Regions from separate parts of the Homo sapiens genome. Here regions 1, 2 and 3 are each linked to region 4. Evidence: promoter capture Hi-C in 16 types of primary human blood cells and fetal thymus (Javierre and others, 2016). All regions are on one chromosome and are shown on one strand. Each heading gives the region's core, a stretch centred on a gene start or on the middle of the fragment in contact. The rest is flanking DNA. Distances are from core to core; before and after follow the strand shown.

The links. Contacts are between HindIII fragments. The CHiCAGO score rates a contact against its expected background, and 5 or more counts as called.
Region 1: a contact is called between a fragment that was not itself captured here and the fragment with the promoter of PSMC1 in region 4, in 1 of 17 cell types (M2 macrophages). The highest score is 5.3, in M2 macrophages.
Region 2: a fragment that was not itself captured here is called in contact with the fragment with the promoter of PSMC1 in region 4 in 1 of 17 cell types (monocytes); the score reaches 5.6 in monocytes.
Region 3: a contact is called between a fragment that was not itself captured here and the fragment with the promoter of PSMC1 in region 4, in 11 of 17 cell types (M2 macrophages, M1 macrophages, monocytes and 8 more). The highest score is 12.6, in M2 macrophages.

What each region holds. Positions count from the first base shown.
Region 1 is chr14:89,981,380-89,986,186 of GRCh38, reverse strand. It overlaps TDP1 (tyrosyl-DNA phosphodiesterase 1), which reads right to left. Exons shown (of 17, transcript NM_018319.4): 9 at 1,504-1,671; 10 at 977-1,055. Among named protein-coding and RNA genes, the nearest start is that of TDP1, 28 kb to the right of the region's middle. The HindIII fragment of the contact is 2,235 bases long and covers 1,395-3,629 here.
Region 2 is chr14:89,942,693-89,947,136 of GRCh38, reverse strand. All of the region lies in intron 3 of EFCAB11 (EF-hand calcium binding domain 11), which reads left to right. Among named protein-coding and RNA genes, the nearest start is that of EFCAB11, 9.8 kb to the left of the region's middle. The HindIII fragment of the contact is 4,864 bases long and covers 1-4,444 here.
Region 3 is chr14:89,959,684-89,964,386 of GRCh38, reverse strand. TDP1 (tyrosyl-DNA phosphodiesterase 1) reads right to left here. Exons shown (of 17, transcript NM_018319.4): 3 at 714-1,279. The coding sequence starts at 1,272. Among named protein-coding and RNA genes, the nearest start is that of TDP1, 6.1 kb to the right of the region's middle. RefSeq lists an enhancer at 312-1,511. The HindIII fragment of the contact is 2,643 bases long and covers 2,078-4,703 here.
Region 4 is chr14:90,253,079-90,258,004 of GRCh38, reverse strand. PSMC1 (proteasome 26S subunit, ATPase 1) reads right to left here and starts at 1,452. Exons shown (of 11, transcript NM_002802.3): 1 at 1,405-1,452. The coding sequence starts at 1,407. RefSeq lists enhancers at 749-1,276, 1,162-1,401, 1,277-1,806. The HindIII fragment of the contact is 16,889 bases long and covers 1-4,926 here.

The DNA.
Region 1 (4,807 bases), core at 1,263-3,762, 270 kb after region 4:
CAAGATCTTGCCTGCTTTAAGCTGTGGTCTCATTTCATAAAAGGAAATTAAAATAAAAAGTTTCATTAACCAAGGGAAAATTCTTAGACTTTAAATAGTTTATGGAATAAGAGGTTAAGGCTTTTAAGAAAGCCACTTTAGGGAATTTATTTATTTTTTTGAGACGGAGTCTCGCTCTGTTGCCCAGGTTGGAGTGCAATGGTGTGGTCTCAGCTCACTGCAATCTCCGCCTCCCGGGTTCAAGCGATTCTCCTGCCTCAGCCTCCCGAGTAGCTGGGATTACAGGTGCCTGCCATCATGCCCGGCTAATTTTTGTATTTTTAGTAGAGACAGGGTTTCACCACGTTGGCCAGGCTGGTCTTGAACTCCTAACCTTGTGATCCGCCCCTCTCAGCCTCCCAAAATGCTGGGATTACAGGCGTGAGCCACCACACCTGGCCAGGGAATTTATTAAGGTCAGTAAACCACCTAAAAAGAGATGAAAAAAACTTTAATCTTCAACTTATTTTATGACCTTTCTTCGTGCATTTTCATATCAGCAGCAAGTATTATTTTTGAATTTGTTTTCTTAAGGGCACTGGTTTAATAATCAAAATATATTATAGCTCAGTTGTAGTCTTTACTCAACATTTTCTGTTTGTTGAATTTATATCTTAAAACTTGATATGCTGAACAATCAAAAGCTATAATCAAAGCTACAGTATGTGTATGAATAGGAAGCCTCTATCTTTATTACAATATAAAAACTAGAAAAGGTCTATATATTTATGCCATTAACAGCCTACAGCTATAAAAGAGGCAAAACACATTAAAAAGCAGTAATTACTAAGAATTATAATTATCAATTTATCAAGTATCTATTTGCCCAGAATTGTGCAGAAATATTGTGAAGCTGCATCAAAATATATAATTATTTTAAAAGAGAGAATATACATTAAATTTTTTAAAAATGTTAAAATAGTAAAAGTTCTGTTACCTTCTTAAGTCTAAAATGTCCCCAATTATCTTTTTGACTTCCTTGAAAGCGTCCTGGGGTTGAACCAATAAGATAAACACTAAAAAGACATAAAAACACAAGTTATAAAATATAGTGATGTGCTTTGGGCACCAAAAAAAATGACAAAATACACATGAAAACTAATATAATCAAGAAATGATCTAAGAGCCAATCCATTTTCTTGAATTGACTCTCAAATTCATTTTCAAGCAAATCAACTAATGATGGAATGCCTACAAGATGTAAAGTACCAGACAAAGAACTCAATAATTGTGAGAGTAACCCAGTGGGAGGCTAAGGTAAACATGAGGATTCACTGGCTGTCACTTTAATGCCTGAGAACCACAAGATACAGATGTGATAGAATCTGCTCATCCCCTCATCACATCCTGAAGCTTGGCTAGATTTCACCCCACCTCTTTCCAGGCCCCTGCATGCCAGACCTCATGAGGCTCCCAAGGTATAAGCCTATCATAAGCACCCCAAATTGATAAGCTGACACATACTTTGTTTCAGAGAGATCGTGCTTGTGAATGACATCTATCCACTCCTTGAGAGAAGGGGCATTATAAGCCATCAAGTAACTGATGAGATCAGCTTTAAAATGTGTTGGCGACTCTCCAGATTTGTGGGTTCCATCAGCAATTCGTGGGTATAAGGGGCTCAACCATATTCTGGAATTAAAAAAATAACCTTTAACAGTCAGGCACACAACTGATCATAATGATCTCTGTATCGATTATGCCTTCATCCTAAGAAAGAGGTGAATTCTCGGTATCTCCACATGGTAAGTAATCTTAGGAAACATGAAACATAAATCTGAGAACACCACTCCAATGGTTTCTCATCACATTCAGAATTATTCCTGAATGTCTTGCCATGAATTTAAGATTCAGTAAGACCTGGGCTCTGCCCACCTCTTCCAACCCACATCCCTCCATGCTCCCTCTCACTTGCCAAACCTTCCTTATTGCTCCTCTTACCTCTGCACCTATATATTGCTTTCTAAGACTTGATGACAAGAGTTAAGAATTCTACTCTTAACGGTTAAAGCAAATCCATGCTACTAGTGGTAATCCCAAGCAAGAATTTGCCCTTGTCTGCATCAATGCAGCTCTTCAGCCAAATGTGAAATAAGAATTGTGTTATCTATACCAAAAGTGCATGTGAAAAATCTATTTTCAATTAACAAACCCATTTTCATAACGTAGGTCCTATAGCAGCATATTTTTATGTCTTATACTTTCTGGTGCCTGGATTAAGTATATATCACATTCAGTGACATTACAATAACCTCAAACTTTCAACACTTAATTCACTGAAGAAGCATTACAGACATCTTTCATTTCATTAATTCTTTTTCCCTAGAGGAAAACAATGCTCTTTGCCAAAACTTCTACATTATATCCATAAATAGAAAACAATCATATCTAATCCCAATCCTTCTATAAACTGCTCCACAGTAGATTACTAAAATGGCTTCAAACCTCTTGTGCTTCAGTTTCTTCAAATGCAAAAAAGTGGGGTTAACAAGGCTGCCTCACTGGGCTGTTGCAAAGCAATGACTTACAGGAGCAGTCAAAAGTATCAGGTGTTACTTTTTTCCCCTTCTGTGGCTACTCTCCTTTTCCCCACCCTGGGTTCTATCTATTAAGCTGAAAGAGAAACTGCCCAATTTCTCTTTCACCTGGCAGCCCCTGAAGGAGACTGGCAAGATGCAGGCCACCAGGGCAGAAGGCATCCAGAACTGCAAGGACTCTCGGCCGTACATCTTCTCAACTCTGCAAGTTTCTAGCAAGGGGCATTTCATACCCCTGCTTCCCACCCTGGGGAGACACTTAGCACAGGAGGTAGCATGGTGTGATGAGGGCTGGAGCCCATGTTCTGGACCCAGATCGACTAGCTGACTATACCATTTTGGGTAAGCTCTGTGATCTCTCTGGGCCTTTGCCTCCGTGTGTAAAATGACCAGGTTGGGCTGGACAGACGTGGAGGACCTCCCCTTGCAATAGCACCTCAAAGTTCCCAGGCTGAGTGAGGCTCCTCCTGGATCAGAGATTCACTCACAGGTGAGTTCTGGATGAGAAACAAGACAAATGACTTTCTAAACTAAGATGCTGAGATATGAGGCATTTTTAACACATCACAAAATGAGAAAATTATTATAATGAGCCAAATAATTTTATTTTATTCTTTACTGTGAGCTTTGGATGCAACTCTTGTTCTAATTTTAAAAAGTGAGAAATCAACAGGTGGATCATGAGGCAGCTGAAGGGGATTAGCAGAACCACAGTAGACCAATTATGAAGTGAGATTGTATACAAAAACTGCTTTCAAAAGTTTTAAAATTACCACAAATAACATGAAATGCAAAACATTAGAGAGTAGAATATAGGCCAAGCATGAAATAATAGGATCCCACACCAGGATGGCTGCCAGAGGAAGATTTCATAGTCTTGGTACTTTCTGAGTTTTGAACCGTTCCTACCTAGTCAATAAGTTTTCCAAAATTTTAAATTAAAAAATACTTTTTTTAAATAAAAGAAACACCCAAGCCCTTATCCCTGCCTCTTCCCTCCTGGCAACCACCCCAGAGAATCCCAAGACAGTACTACTGCCTGTAAGCTAAGCTTCCAACTTCAGAAGGAGCTGGAGGCCCAGGGTGGGATTCTTGGAACCACGTGAGGCTGAGAGCTAACCTGAGAAATCCCTTTAGTAACATTGTTTCATGAGAACAAGCTACATTAATCTCATTGCCTTTTGATAGGGCCACATGAATCCCCAAACCCAATCTGGCAGCTCAGGAGAACTGGCTTAGAAGCTCTTGGGGTACCAAAGGCATAGTTAACCATAAATTCAGTAGATCAAGAAAGTGCTACAGCTGAGACTTAGAGACCAAGCAGCTATCCCCTCAACCCTGGACCAGTCAGAGCCACACTTCATTTTGAAAAGCATATTTTCAGTGGGATACTGAAAAATTATAACATGTTTATAGAAAAGCGACCAGGAATTACAGCTAGGGGTCTCAAAGCCACATGCTATGGTGGGGCAAGGGAGTGGGGAGGGAACAAGAGATGTAAGGCTCAGAAACAAGACTCCCTTTCAAACTCTGAAGGACTGCTTTAAGGGAGGGAGATTACATTTGTCCTGCGCAGTGCACTCAGGTTGAAGCAAGACCTGTTGAAGGAAACTGGAAAGCTATTTCAGCTCAAACTAAGATGTAACTTGGGGCCAGGCACGGTGGTTCATGCCTGTAATCTCAGCACTTTGGGAGGCTGAGGCAGGCGGATCACTTGGCAACTAGGCAAAACCTTGTCTCTACAAAAAATAAAGACAGTTAGCCAAGTGTGGTGGTACGTGCCTGCAGTCCCAGTTACCCAGAAGGCTGAGGTGGGAGGATCACCTGAGCCCAGGAGGTTGAGGTTAAAGTGAGCCGTGATCGCATCACAGCATTGTAACCTGGGTGACAGAGTGAGACCGTCTCAAAAAAACAAACAAAACAAAGATGTAACCTGGGCTCAGCAGAGCTTAGCTGAAAGTAATACACTCCAAATTAGGAGTTCTAGCCCAAGCTAGGCAATGATATGGGGCAGGGTGAGGCAGAGGAGGATGACAGAGAAAACGTGAACCTGGAAATGGTGCTAGACAAACGTCCGAGTTTCTCCCAACACAGAAGGCTGTTTGTTAACCAGCTCTTCTCTAGCACAGGCAGAGATGTACAAAATGGCTTAAACAAAAGAAAATTAAAGTTAGTCATAATCAAGAACAATAGCTGAACTTGTTGAGCAAATCCCTAAAGCTCCCTTTTAA
Region 2 (4,444 bases), core at 956-3,455, 310 kb after region 4:
TACACCATCTTCCTTCTCCTTTGCACTTTCTACCACTATCCCCTTCTCTTCTGTAATGAATATAACCAAAATATGCTTATCATATTCATAAATATATGTTGATACTGTTTTATCTGATTTATCATCTATATTTTGTCAGTTGATCTAATAACATCCTTAATAGTATCTTTCCTTTTTTAGTATGTTAAAAAATCATAAGTGTATCTAGGGAAAAAAAAGACACATATGAATAGGAACAAAGATAAAAATGACAGCAGTTGGCTGGGAGTGGTGACTCACACCTGTAATCCAAGCACTTTGGGAGGCCAAGGCAGGAGGATTGCTTGATGCCAGGAGTTCAAGACCAGTCTGGTCAACATAGTATGAGACTCTGAATCGACAAAAAAGCAAAAAAAAAAAAAAAGCCAGGCATGATGGCACGTGCCTGTAATCTTAGCTACCTGGGAGGCTGAGGCAGGATCCCTTGAGCCCAGGAGTTTGAGGTTGCACTTAGCCATTATCATACCACAGCACCCCAGCCTGGGCGACAGAGTGAGACCTCATCTCTTAAAAAACTTAATTAATTCAACAGAAGGAAGAAAATGGGAACAAAAAATAGATGGAAATAGACAAGTAGAAAAATAATATGGTAGATTTAAATCCAATCATTAATGTTTTAGTTAGATGTAAATGATCTCAACAGCCCCATTGAAAGGGAGATACTGTTAAATTAGATAAAAGAGTACCAACTAACTCTGTGTTGCCTAGAAGCCCACTTTAAACATAAGGGCAAAAAAGATTAGAAATATATACTGTACTGAACACTAACCAAAAGTATGCCAAAGTGAGCATGTTAATATCAGATGAAGTAGACTTCAGAAGAAGAAATATTACCAGGGATAAGGAGAGCCAGTTCATTAAGGGAATTAAACATTTATGCCCCTGGCCAGGTGCCATGACTCAAGCCTGTAATCCCAGCACTTTGAGAGGCCAACGCAGACGAATCACTTGAGGCCAGGAGTTTGAGACCAACCATGATGAAACCCCGTCTTTACGAAAAAATACAAAAAAATTAGCTGGACATGGTGGTGCATGCCTGTAATCCCAGCTACTCGGGGGGCTGAGGCACGAGAATCATTTGAGCCCAGGAGGTGGAGGTTGCAGTGAGCCCAGATTGCATCACGGCACTCCAGCCTGGGTGACAGAGCAAGACTCTGTCTCAAAAAAAAAAATAAAAAAAAAAAATCCCCTAATAATGGAAATTCAAAATACATGAAGCAAAAAACTAATAAAACTGTAAAGAAAAATGGACAAATCCATAATGATGGTAGGAGGTTGCAACACCCCTATCAATAATTAAGCAAGTAGACATAAAATCAATAAGGATATAGGAGACGTGAACAGCACTGTCAACCAGTGTGACCTAATTGTAATCTATAGAATGTTCTACCCAACAAAAGCAGAATACACATTCTTTTCAAGTCTACACAGTATATTTAATAAAATTGGTCATACTCTGGGCCATTAAACATGTCAATACATTTAAAGTACAAAGTATGTTCTTTGTGATGGAACGACATTAGAAATCAATAGCAAAGCTGTCTGGAAAAGTTGCAAATAGTTGTTCCAAGTAAAAGTTTAAAAGTTCCAAACAAATAGCACACTTCTAAATAACTCATAGGTCAAAGAAAAAATCAAAAGGGAAAAATTAGGAAGTATTTTGAATTGAATGAAAAGACCACATTTCAAATTTTGTAGGATGGATTGAAAGCAATACTTGGAAAGTGGTAGCACTAACTTTCTATGTTTAGGAAAGAATAAAGGTGTCAAACTGATGACCTCAGCTTCTACCTTTAATTATCTTCTACCTTTAACTACAAAAAAGAGTAAATAAGGCCCGAAATAAGTGGAGGAAAGGAAATAGTAAAGATTGGAATGGAAATTGTTGAAATTGAAAAGAGGACAAACAAGAAAAAATTAAAAGCTGATTTTGTTGAGGTAATCAATAAAAATGAGAAACTACTACCCACACTGAGTGGGGGGGGAAAAGAGAGCAGGGATTACTAACATTTAGATTTAAAATCTAATATTTTATTAGATTTATTATTAGATCTAATAAAATCTAATATTTTATTAGATTTATTATTAGATCTAATAAAATCTAATATTTTATTAGATTTATTATTAGATCTAATAAAATCTAATATTTTATTAGATTTATTATTAGATCTAATAAAATCTAATATTTTATTAGATTTATTATTAGATCTAATAAAATCTAATATTTTATTAGATTTATTAATATTGTATTAAAATCTAATACACTTTATGTACAAGGTTTAGAATCACATTTAAAATAAGACTTTCAGGATTATTGCTAGGAGAACATGTTCTTGATATAATCGCTAACTTGATAGAATTGCTCCAGGTTTTAAATTTCTTGTTGAAAATTTTCACTTTCAAAATATTCAGAATAATGTTTGATGTTCCATTAGTTACAACTTCTTGATAAAGCCTTTTCTACATTTTTTTCATTAGGGTTTTTTGTGAATATTCCAATCTACAGAGAGTTTTGTTTTCTGGCAAAAGGATTTCCCACATTCTTTGCATTGATAGGATTTCTCTTTCTTAAGAGTTCCCTGATATTCAGTGAGTTATTCTTTCTGGATGAAGATCTTACCCTAGTCATAATATCGTGTTTCTCTATTATGTTACTGATATGGATTGGCTGTGTCCCCACCCAAATCTCATTTTGTAACTCCCATAATTCCCACGTGTTGTGGGAGGGACCCAGTGGGAGATAATTGAATAATGGGGGCAGGTCTTTCCCAGGCTGTTCTTGTGATAGTGAATAAGTCTCACGAGATTTGATGGTTTTAAAAAGAGAAGTTCCCCAGCACAAGCTCTCTCTTGTCTGCTGTCATTCATGTAAGACATGACTTGCTCCTCTTTGCCTTCCGCTATGATCGTGGGGGCTCCCCAGCCGTGTGGAACTGTAAGTCCATTAAACCTCTTTCTTTTGTAAATCGTCCAGTCTCATCTTTATCAGCAGCATGAGAAAAGATTAATACAGTGGCTTTTCTGATACATCAAGTGTGACTATTGCTGAAGGCATTTTAACATTCATTATTCTCATAGACTTTCTTTCTTCTGTATGTTCTCTGATTTTGAATTAAGGATTTGACTTCACACTGAATGTTTTCTTTCCTTAACTAGTTCTCTAATGTGCAGAGAGGTATGGATTCTGGAAGAAAGAATACAGTCCCCACCTGTATTCTCCCAGCTGTACTCTAGTGTGAGTGTGTATGTATGTGTGTGTGTGTGTGTGTTTATTTGGAGAAACTCAAGACCACAAACATTCAAGAAAAGGAGTAAAATAGCCTAGCAAGAAATCACTGCTGTACTCTGATTGCTGCTAACATGCAATTTTTCTATTAGAATTGTTCAATACTGAACCAATTTCAAACCATCCACTTTTTCTTCTTTCCCTCTTATTGATACGAGTCAATTTTACATGCTATTTCTCTTGAAGGAAGAGAGCACATGTGCAGATTAAATGTTTTTCCACATATATTATCTCTCTTCTTAATGTTTGGATCTTGAAGAACTGAAATTGGCGGGGTGTGGTAGCTCACGCCTGTAGTCCCATGCAATTTGGGAGGCCAAGGTGGGTGGATCACTTGAGCCCAGGAGTTTGAGACCAGCGAGAGCAACATGGCGAAACCCCATCTCTACAAAAAATACAAAAATGAGCCAGGCCTGATGGTACATGCCAGTCCCAGCTACTCAGGGGGCTGAGGTAGAGGATTGCTTGAGCCCAGGAGGTTGAGACTGCTGTGAGCCATGATCACGCCACTGCACGCCAGCCTAGGTGACAGAGCGAGACCCTGTTTCAAAAAAAAAAAAAAAACAGGTCTGAAATGCTGGCCTTGGCCTCCTGGGAACTATTTATTCAGGTAATCAACTTTCCAAAGTTGTTCTGTATAATACAGCTGTGACTTGGGAATTCTCTGCTATCCATTGTTCTTCTTACTTCGGAACAGGGCTCTAACACACCATCCACAGGATTCTTTTGCAGGGCCCAGTTGCTGCCCAGCTTGCAGGGCAAGGTCAGACTCACATTCTAGGTTGGCCCAGACTCAGCTGCTTTTAGGAAGGGCCAGAGTCCGGAAGCTAGACACCCTGCACTTTGGGTTCGGGATTATACCTAAACCTGGATGCCCAGGCCCTGCTTCCCAAGGGCTTCGAATCCTCTTGAAAAGTAGGTCATTTCAATAGAGATTTCCTCGTGAAAATTAAGAAGAGTGAAAAGTTAAGTCAAAGCTAGTAGAAATAAGAGTAAAGTATCTGGAAGAAGTGTACATGCTGGGAGAATTTGAGGGCAGCCAGGGTGAGTAGCAGAAAGGTGCTAATGATGTTTTTATTGCCTGTAACCTAACAAGCAAGTGAATATAAGCAAAAACTG
Region 3 (4,703 bases), core at 2,150-4,649, 300 kb after region 4:
TCCTGTGTTAACAATCCATACAGCAAATGAGTGGTGAGGCCAGAAAGCAGATTCTAGAGCTCCTGCTCTTCCTCCTGCAGGTGCTCCCTGAGGAATAAGGAGAGCAAACTAAGGCCATCTTTTGATCCATAACTGAAACATCTATTTGCACTCAGGCACTATTTTGTTTTTTCTTCTTCTTCTTCACCAGGAACTAAAACCAGGCTTTTAAGCAGTGGTTCTCAAACTTGACTGGGCAGTAGAATCCCCTCAAGGGCTCGTGAAAACACAGACTGCAGGATCTCACCCTCAGAGTCCAATTTAATGAATCGGGAATGGGGCCCGAGAATTTGCATTTTAACAAGTTGCAGGTGATGCTGAGGCTGCTGGTCCAGGGCCCATGGAGAACTACTACTGTTGTCAAGTATTTGCTACCTTGTTGATAAACTGTTACTCATCAAGCTTCATCTTAAAAAGTTAAATAATGCTAAACATCGTGCTAAGTGATATAAGGGGTTGAGCTACAGGGTTTTGAGAACACACGCTCTGCCTGAGTTAAGTAAACAGTCTGCTGTTATACTAATGCACTTGCCTGTCAAGAATTTTTTTCCTGAAAGTAGTTAAGAACACAAAGAAGAGTTCTCAGAAACTATTCTAGGCTGCCCTCCTTGTTTCACGGAGGAGAGACTCTCAAGGGCAATTCAACAGCTCCTTGACACCCAGCATCCTCTTACCCTTGATGTGGAGGGCTCCAGAGTTATACTTTGGCTTAACTCCAGAGACTCTAGTGAGGTAAAACTGGAAGGGGTTCCCTTTATCCAGCATGTCCCAAATGTCCTGGCCCTCCCCTGATGTCTCATACTCGTCTTCCTCCTCTTTGAGCCTGTGGCAGGCGGGAGCGCCATGATTTTCAGTTCTTTGGGCAGTGCCGTCATTGGGAGCAGAGATGTCTTTCTCCTTTTTGATCACCACTTTCTCAGCCTGCTTCTGCGGCATTTCTGGTTGCAGCTCATCATCACTGCTGGACAGACACCAGCCGAGGTCCTCCTGGGAACCGCTTTTCTGCCTTTTGGGAGGTAAAACTGAATCTGTATTGCTGAATTTCACAGGTGATATTTTCCTCTTGTGTGCAGCTTTCTGGGCCTCGGAACAGGTGTACCTGGGCTCATTTGCTGCTCCTTGCCTGGCACAGAGAAGAGAAGAGGTAGATGGCTTGTCTGGTTTTGGCTTTTCTTCCTCACTTTCATCACTACTAGATATGGTCCACCTCCCATAATCGCCTTCCTGAGACATTATACTCCTGGAAATGAAAAGTGGAAACATCAGCATTTCCCATTCATCAGGGCATTGGCAAAATAACTTTATTGCTCTCAACTTCCCTGTCAGATGAGCTGACACCTTCCAGAGGCTGAACCACCTAACATCAGCTGCTTTTTGGGTGTTTATAAGCACATTACCAGAATCCACTATCAGATTCTGCCAAATCACAAGCAAAAGTCCTGGTCACCTTTCTTTTTTCTTCCTTTTTTTTTTTGAAACAGGGTCTCGCTCTGTCACCCAGCTGGAGTGGTGCAGTGGTTCAATCTCAGCTGACTGCAACATCTGCCTCCTGGGCTCAAGCAATCCTCCTGCCTCATCCTCTCGAATAGCTGGAACTACAGGTGCACGCCATCACGTCTGGCTAATTTTTTTTTTCTTTTTTTTTGGTAGAGACAGGGTTTCATTATTGTTGCCCAGGCTGGCCTTGAACTCCTGGACTCAAGAGATCCACCCACCTTGGCCTTCCAAAGTGCTGGGATTACAAGTATAAGCCACCATGCCTGGCCTTGGCTTTCAATCTAAACTTTGTTCTTAGATGTCCTAGGAAAGGGGGTTGAAGAATGCATCAAGACAAATGCCAAAATAAAACAAACATTCATTCTTGACCCCGAAACTTCCAATAAGCGTTTGGGATTAAGGTCCATTTAATCTATGTTCAAATGCTTAAGGTCAAATTGGAATTTACAAACCTAGCCTTCACCCAAGTACAGGCACCCACAGGACTTCAGTGATTATGTATGTCTTACTTCCCAAAAGACAACCCATTTACCATAAAGCTTAACAAAGTCTTCAAGAGGAAAGCCAAATGACCACTTAGGTATGTACATTATTTACACTACTTCCATGAGGACCCAACTAATTATAATTAGTTGGATATAATTATATCAAGATATAATTATCCTATTGGCTACATCATAAATCTACTAACACCTACACAGAAATAACTTGTACTGAAGCAACACACTTTTATTTTTTAAGCCCCACAGTCAAATTCTACTTTCTTGTTCTGAGAACAGGAAAGTACACGAAACAGTCACTTTTGCTGTTACCTACCAAATCTTGTCAATTCAGTGGTAAAGGACTATCTAAGTAGACTTTCCAGACAGCTAAAGAACAGTTCCTCAATGTGATACTTTTAACATTTTAGCACAAGACCCAGGGGAAAATTACAAAACTCAGTAGTCTGTGCTCAGATCAACAGTATCTTCGAGTTTCTGCTGTTTTAATGAGGCTGGAAAAGATGCATTGAGTGGAGTAAACCAAGATGGTGACACTCCCTTCACAAAACCTACATTCCCCAAAAAAGAGAATTCAACATTATTCTACATCAAAAGATTTGCAAATCAATACATATGCATATGTCTCTAGATGAGAACTAAAAATAAAAATCTTGGCTAAGGGGACCCCAGAGAAACCTTAAAAACTGAGTTCCGGGCCATGATGAGATGGGAGCTCAGACATGCCTGTTATATCCCCTCCCTTCTGCGGTTTAAACACAACTGACCAGAGATCGTAAGACTGGCAGAATAGATTCTGTGACAATATGACACTAAATCATAAACAAGACCTAAGGCCATGCCAAGCAAGGGTTAAATCACACACTGCTACCTTTAAACTATGTTCTACCTTCCACAAGGTTCTTTTTTCTTCAGCAGCTAAATAAGCACTGGCCTAGAGATAAGGAATATCTAAACAATTGCAGCTCACCTACTGCCAGATGCTTGACTAACTGACCCCTCTGGTTCCACAGGCCATGACTGCAGCTGTCATTGGACAATGGAGTAACTTTCTCCTGAAAAGAAACCACAGACTGGTTCTGACCAGTCCTCAGAGGCTGAGCACTGAGTGCCTTCATGTCTCTCCTTCACCTTTTGACAGAGGGCCTAATTGTAATTCATTCAAATGTTAAGTCTCCATCCCAAAGTGAACACGAGATGCACAAAACACACGTTTGCTCATTACACATGCACACGTGTCCCCCCTTGGTGAATATTCATAGCTCCTCCCACACCTGTTGAATACTATACTTGGCCAACCCATTCAGTATAAATCTCTGTTCTACCCTCTCCTCCCTGGGATGCCATTAAAGGTCTCTGCCTGAGGCTGTGCTTCCCAGCCTGTCAGGCCACACTGCAGGCTGTAGCCCTTTATAAGAACTAAGCTCTCCTTTCTAAATGTATAGATCTCATGATTTTTTCAGTGAACACAGCAGGGCGGGGCAGGGGAGGGTTGGAAATACTTTAAAGGTATCTATCCCTTTTCACAATTTCTCTCTTCACCTTTTTCAATTAACTACCAGTCAAGTTAAGCAAGCCTTCTGTAAATTACACATTTCAAGGAACTTTTATGCAAGAATGCATCAAGACAATAATCTGGCCCATTCTTCATGGCTCTGGGTCATTATTACCCTACCCAGCATGAACACACTATCTCACAGCCAAAGCCTTATTGACTGTAGAGAGGGCTGGGGCCACTTGCTCCTGTAATAGTGACCCTAGACTGTCTGGCTCTTTTGAGCCCTCATATCTGCTTTCTAAAAGTTTCTATTTATTTCTACACTCTGTCCAGCCCACTTCAAGGGGTTGTTAAAACTCATAGCATAGGTATATTTTCCCTAAATTGTTTCTAATCTGCTAAGGGTTAAGAAACTAGATAACTGGGTTTGTAGAACTGTATTGTCATGGTTAAAGGGGTCTGAGTGCCCAGTTTCCTCCATGAAAGAGATTCAGATTGATTTACTACTCAACACCTACTTAAGCAGCTCAGAGGTGGTTTTTTAAATGTTTTTAATCCTTCCGGTTTGAAAAAAAAACCCACAAAACCTTAGGTTCCTCTAGTGTTCTAGAGTCTAGAAGTTGCTGGATAGGGGTATTTAAGCTGTTACAATACACTTTGAAGAAACTATTTCAGTGGCTACAGTTTCGTGACTTTAAAGTTATCTAGGAACAAAAGAACCACCTTAGGAAAAACCACTCTCTGAATGTCAGCTCTAGGTTCCTTTGAATTCTACAACAGTTCTAAACCAAGGCGGTGAGTAATAGAATCTTCCATTACAGTCCTCAGGCTGTTCTCTATAGATACCTTGCCCATTCTAAAGTAAGTAGCAGGTCTTAGTTTTTGGTGAGAAAGGATTCAGCTTCCACTCTCAGAAGCAGTTGCAGAATCTTAAGAGGCTACCATAACAAATATGGTTGCCTGCATTATATAAATAAAATGGAATTTCCAAACACTGAGAATTCTGTGCTAAGTACATTATTATGTACTAAGAGTTGCTAAGGTAAAATCCTTAGCAACTCTGTGAATTATTTAGAGAATTTCAAAGGTTTTTAAGTTTTATCATTATCTCCATTTTCTAAAACCATATGGAAGTGGAATTCCCTCCAACAAAGTAGGACAAGAGGATA
Region 4 (4,926 bases), core at 203-2,702:
ATGAGGACAGTAGTAATTACCTCGAGGGAACTGTTGTAATAAATGAGAAAATGCTGGAAAAGTACTTGGTACATGCTTAGAATACTACCCAGAAATCCGTATAAGACCTCTATGAGGCCGGGCGCGGTGGCTCACGCCTGTAATCCCAACACTTTGGGAGGCCGAGGCGGGCGGATCATAAGGTCAGGAGTTCAGGACCAGCCTGGCCAACAGAGTGAAACGCCGTCTCTACAAAAATACAAAAATTAGCCGGGCGTAGTGGCGGGCGCCTATAGTCGCAGCTACTTGGAAGGCTAAGGCAGGAGAATCGCTTGAACCCGGGAGGCGGAGATCGCGCCACTGCACTCCAGCCTGGACGACAGACCAAGACTCCGTCTCAAAAAAATAAAAATTAAAATTAAAATAAAAAAGACCTCTATGAGATCTGGCCTTCTTGCCGTTCATGATACAGGTTAAACATTCCCATCTCAGGTCCTTTGCACTTGCTGTATCTTCTGCCTTGACCACATTTCCCTCAGACATCTGCAGGGGTTACTCCCTCAATTTCGGTCCGCTCAAATTTCACCTCCTCAGAGCTACCTTCGCTGACTCTATAAAAAGCAGCCACTCCTCCAAGCTATCCCTTTCTATACAATAACCATACAACAATGACCACCCCACCCCTGACATCATATTACATATTTCTGATGATTGTCTGCCTTCTGCTCTAGAATGTACGCACTATGAAGGCAGGGACTTCAATCAATCCTCAGTGTCTACAACAGAAGCTAGCCAAAAGTTTAACAACAACAACAAAACACCAAGTGCTCAGTAAATACTTGTTTAGTGAATTGATGAATAAATGCTAGCTGTTTTTATTATTACTACTGCACCACGGGCCCTTTCCGTCTTAGCTCCGCCTGTCATAACAACGTCTTTAAGGCCTCCTTCAAATGCCCCCAGCTCCGAAAGGCCTTCCACGACTCCGCGCTCAACTCCTCAGGTGGAATGAATCCCACCCTCTTCTCCAGCACCCTTCACCTGCCCGACTCAAAAAGCATTTTTCCCGGTGACTCGAGGAGGCGCCCCCGAAACTCCCAGCGCCGATCAGCAAAGCCCTGGTCGGCGGAGCAGCAAAGCCAGCGGCCTGATCCGTTCTGCCGCCCCACAAGACCACGCAGGAGACCCTCTCTCTGCTCTGAGCCCCGGCCCCAGGATCCCCGGGCAAGGCCCGTTGGTCGGCCCCGGCCCGCGGTGGACATGAGCGCGGTCTCTGGGAGCCTCCACCCGCCGAGAAGATCAGGCCGGCAAAAGGAGAAGAGGGCTGTCCCAGTTCCTCGGGCAGCCGCCTCTTTCTCTCGCCTCAGGCTGCTGAGACCCCATCGCACCGCGACGACCAGCGGAAAGAAACCCTTAGTCACTCACCATCTTGCCTTGGCCACTTGAGCTGCCGCTGCCGGAAGTTCCTCCACCACTGCGGCCCGCCAGAGGCGGAAGTCGTTAGGGACGCTACGGAAGCTGATAGGAACCAAATTCTGCGCTGACCAAGTTGTGCTCCAAGGGCTTGTGCGGGCGGTCTAGGGCAACGCAGCAGTTTATAAGCATAAAGTGAACTTTATAAATATTTTACTTGAAAGAAATTTTTGAATACCCGTTATGAGGCGCTTGTCAACAACTTAAGACAATGACCCCTACTGTCAAAGAATTAGGACAATCGTGAAAATATAAAATATTTAAATTATGCAAAATTTATAACTGGGAAGAACTTTATGGTTCTAAAAACTGGAATGGTATTTGGAACTGGGAAGTTGACATATACATTTGCACAAATATTTCAGTTATTATTCAGCTTCTGGAATTTAACCTGCACATCTGGGAGTATGTGTGTAACGAGTCTTCTAAACCTGTCTTTTTCTGATGACCTGTGACTTGTGATGATGCCAAATGTCTTAAATTCCTCATCTTGAAGCTGATTGGTAAAGTTCCTCATTTGTTACACCCTCCAGGACATCAGAAAAATGGCAACAATCCCTTCTGTTTCTGGAAATTTCATTAACAAGTGCTCAAAATACTGCATCTTTCTGAACTGGAGAAATGGATGATTTTTTTTCTGCTCCAGATTGATTTAGGGATTTTAGTTGTGAAACACTAAAAATATTTCCCTTATGAACACACAACAGGTATACTTCTTCCTTTTCATCATCACTGCAACACGGTAATAGAAAGTCTTAGCACTATCGACCTCTGTTAACAAATCTGGCATCTAGTGTACATGACACATGAAATCACACGATAGGACAGTATCACACATAGGATAGAGATGGTGAAACTCCCATCTCTACTAAAAATACAAAAATTAGTCGGGCATCATCGTGGGCATCTGTAATCCCAGCTGCTTGGGAGGTCGAGTCATGAGAATCTCTCGAACCTGGGAGGCGACGGTTGCAGTGAGATCACGCCCCTGCACTCCAGTCTAGGTGACAGAGCGAGACTCTGTCTCAAAAAAAAAAATTAATAAAAATTTAAAAAACAAAATAAATATCCTTTCCCTAATGCATTTTACAAGAAACAAGTAAATAGTAAAATATATAGTATGCCACATAGTGGTAAATGCCATAGGAAAAATTAATGCCTAGGAAAAATGCCTAGGATTAGGAGCATGCAGCAGTGGTGGGTGATTTTAACTTTAAATTGGATGATACTTGAGCAAAAGCCCGTAAGGCATGAAGGAGTAAGCTATTCAGATATCTGGTGGAAGAGCTTTCTAGGTAGAGGGAACAGCCAGGGCAGAGGCCCTGCAGTAGAAGCTGCAGAGGATGGAGATTAGAGACACCATATAGTGAAGAAGTCAGAAACAGGCACATAACTCCCAGTGGAAGCTCAGCGGTTAAAGGCGAGTCAATAGAACCCAGTAATGAAGAGAGTAGCCAACGTTGGCATCAGACTTTCCTATTGTGGCTGTAGGAAGTGACATAAAGTAAGCAGAAAATTTAAGTTTATCTACATAATGGACAGCTAAGAGAAAGCAGGGAGAGGATTAGAAAGACTACTTGGAGTGCTCAGCACTTGGGGAGGTTGGAAGTTGCAAGTGGAAAAGAGGGAGAGTTGCAGAGATGACTGTCAACCGGGTGGGGAGGATTGAGAGTCAGCCATAGGGCAAAAGAGATGCACAGGGGCTGGGCGCCGTGGCTCACGCCTGTAATCCCAGCACTTTGGGAGGCCGAGGCGGGTGGATCACCTGAGTTCAGGAGTTCAAGACCAACCTGACCAATATGGTGAAACCTCATGTCTACTGAAAATACAAAAATTAGCTGGGAGTGGTGGCAGATGCCTGTAATCTCAGGTACTCGGGAGGCTGAAACGGGACAATCGCTTGAACCTGGGAGGCGGAGGTTGCAGTTAGCCGAGATTGCGCCATTGCACTCCAGCCGGGGCGAAAAGAAGGAAAATCCATCTCAAAAAGAAAAAAAAAGAAAGTGACCATAAATGTAGTGCTCAAAGCTAGAAGGTCTCTGGGTTAGAAGTTCAACTTGGGTCTCACAGGGCTAAAATCAAGATACCAACAGGTTTCCTCTCCGGAGGCTCTGCTCTAGCTGTGTGACATCAGCAAGTCATCCTCATTTTCTCATCTGTATAACGGGATAATTATCTACCTTGCCGGCTGAGGATACGGAGAGGATAAAACTCTTGTTTTTTGATTCTTAAGAGATTTTTGCCAAAAGTAGATGGAATGGAGGCTGAGGTAGGAAGGTGTCCAAACGTGGACGGAGGGCTCATGCTAGGGTGGACAGAGGGGGCGGGGCCGGGGTGGACAGAGGGCAGGTGCCAGAGGCGAGCGTGCATCCTGTTCAGCAGCCCCCCTGCAACCTCAAGCACATCAGAACCAGCCCAGATGCTGACAAAATGCAGACTCTGGTGCCATCCGCCAGAGACTGTGATTCTATAGGCCCATGGCAGGGCCCAGACACCTGCATTTTAACAGATACCCCAAGGGATTCTGAGGCTGGGTGACTCATACACCACATTTTTAGAGCCGGAACTCCAGAACACTGGTCTGCAAAGCAGGGCAGCCACACCCTGGTGGCCCAGGGGCCCATTCGTGTGTTGGAAGAAGCCATCAGAATGACTTTTTATTTAAAAAATAAGAATAATTACTAATCAAACAGCCAAGGGGTTAACGCCAGGTCTCGTTTCCAGCCTTGTCACCAGTGAGCTGTGTTGTTGTGTCTCAGTTCTGTCGTCTGTGAAATAGGGACCTTTATAGTTCCTCCTTCATGGTGCCATTGTTTGAGGACTAAAGTAAAATGCTGAGAATTGCACTTGGCATAGGACAATTACTCTAGGTATCAGCTACTCTGATTATTATTATTATTTTGAGACAAGGTCTCATGCTGTTACCCAGACTGGAGTGCAGTGACAGAATCTTGGCTCATTGTAACCTCCACCCCCCAGGTTCAAGCGATTCTCCTGCCTCAGCCTCCCAAGTAGCTGGGATTACAGGCACCCGTCCCCATGCCCAGCTAATTTTTGTATTTTTAGCAGAGACGCGGTTTCACCATGCTGGCCAGGCTGGTCTCCAACTCCTGACCTCAAGTGATCCACCCACCTTGGCCTCCCAAAGTGCTGGGATGACAGGTGTGAGCCACCGCGCCTGGCCTTATTAGTATTTCTTGTTAATATACAAATTGCCATTGGCACACTCATTCTGTGCATATATTAGATGGTCCCGTATCCCATTCAAAATTTACAATCTCTTCGTAGAGTGGTACAGTGATCTTCAAACACATTTCTTCATGCATTCTCGAAAGTAATTTGCAAAATGTATTTCTTGATACATTTCTAGGTTAGCATCTAAATTTCATATAAGTTTAAATAGCTGCAAATGATCCACTTGCCAGGAAGTTTTAAGTATTGACATTTTAATGTATATACACAAAGGAATCTAAC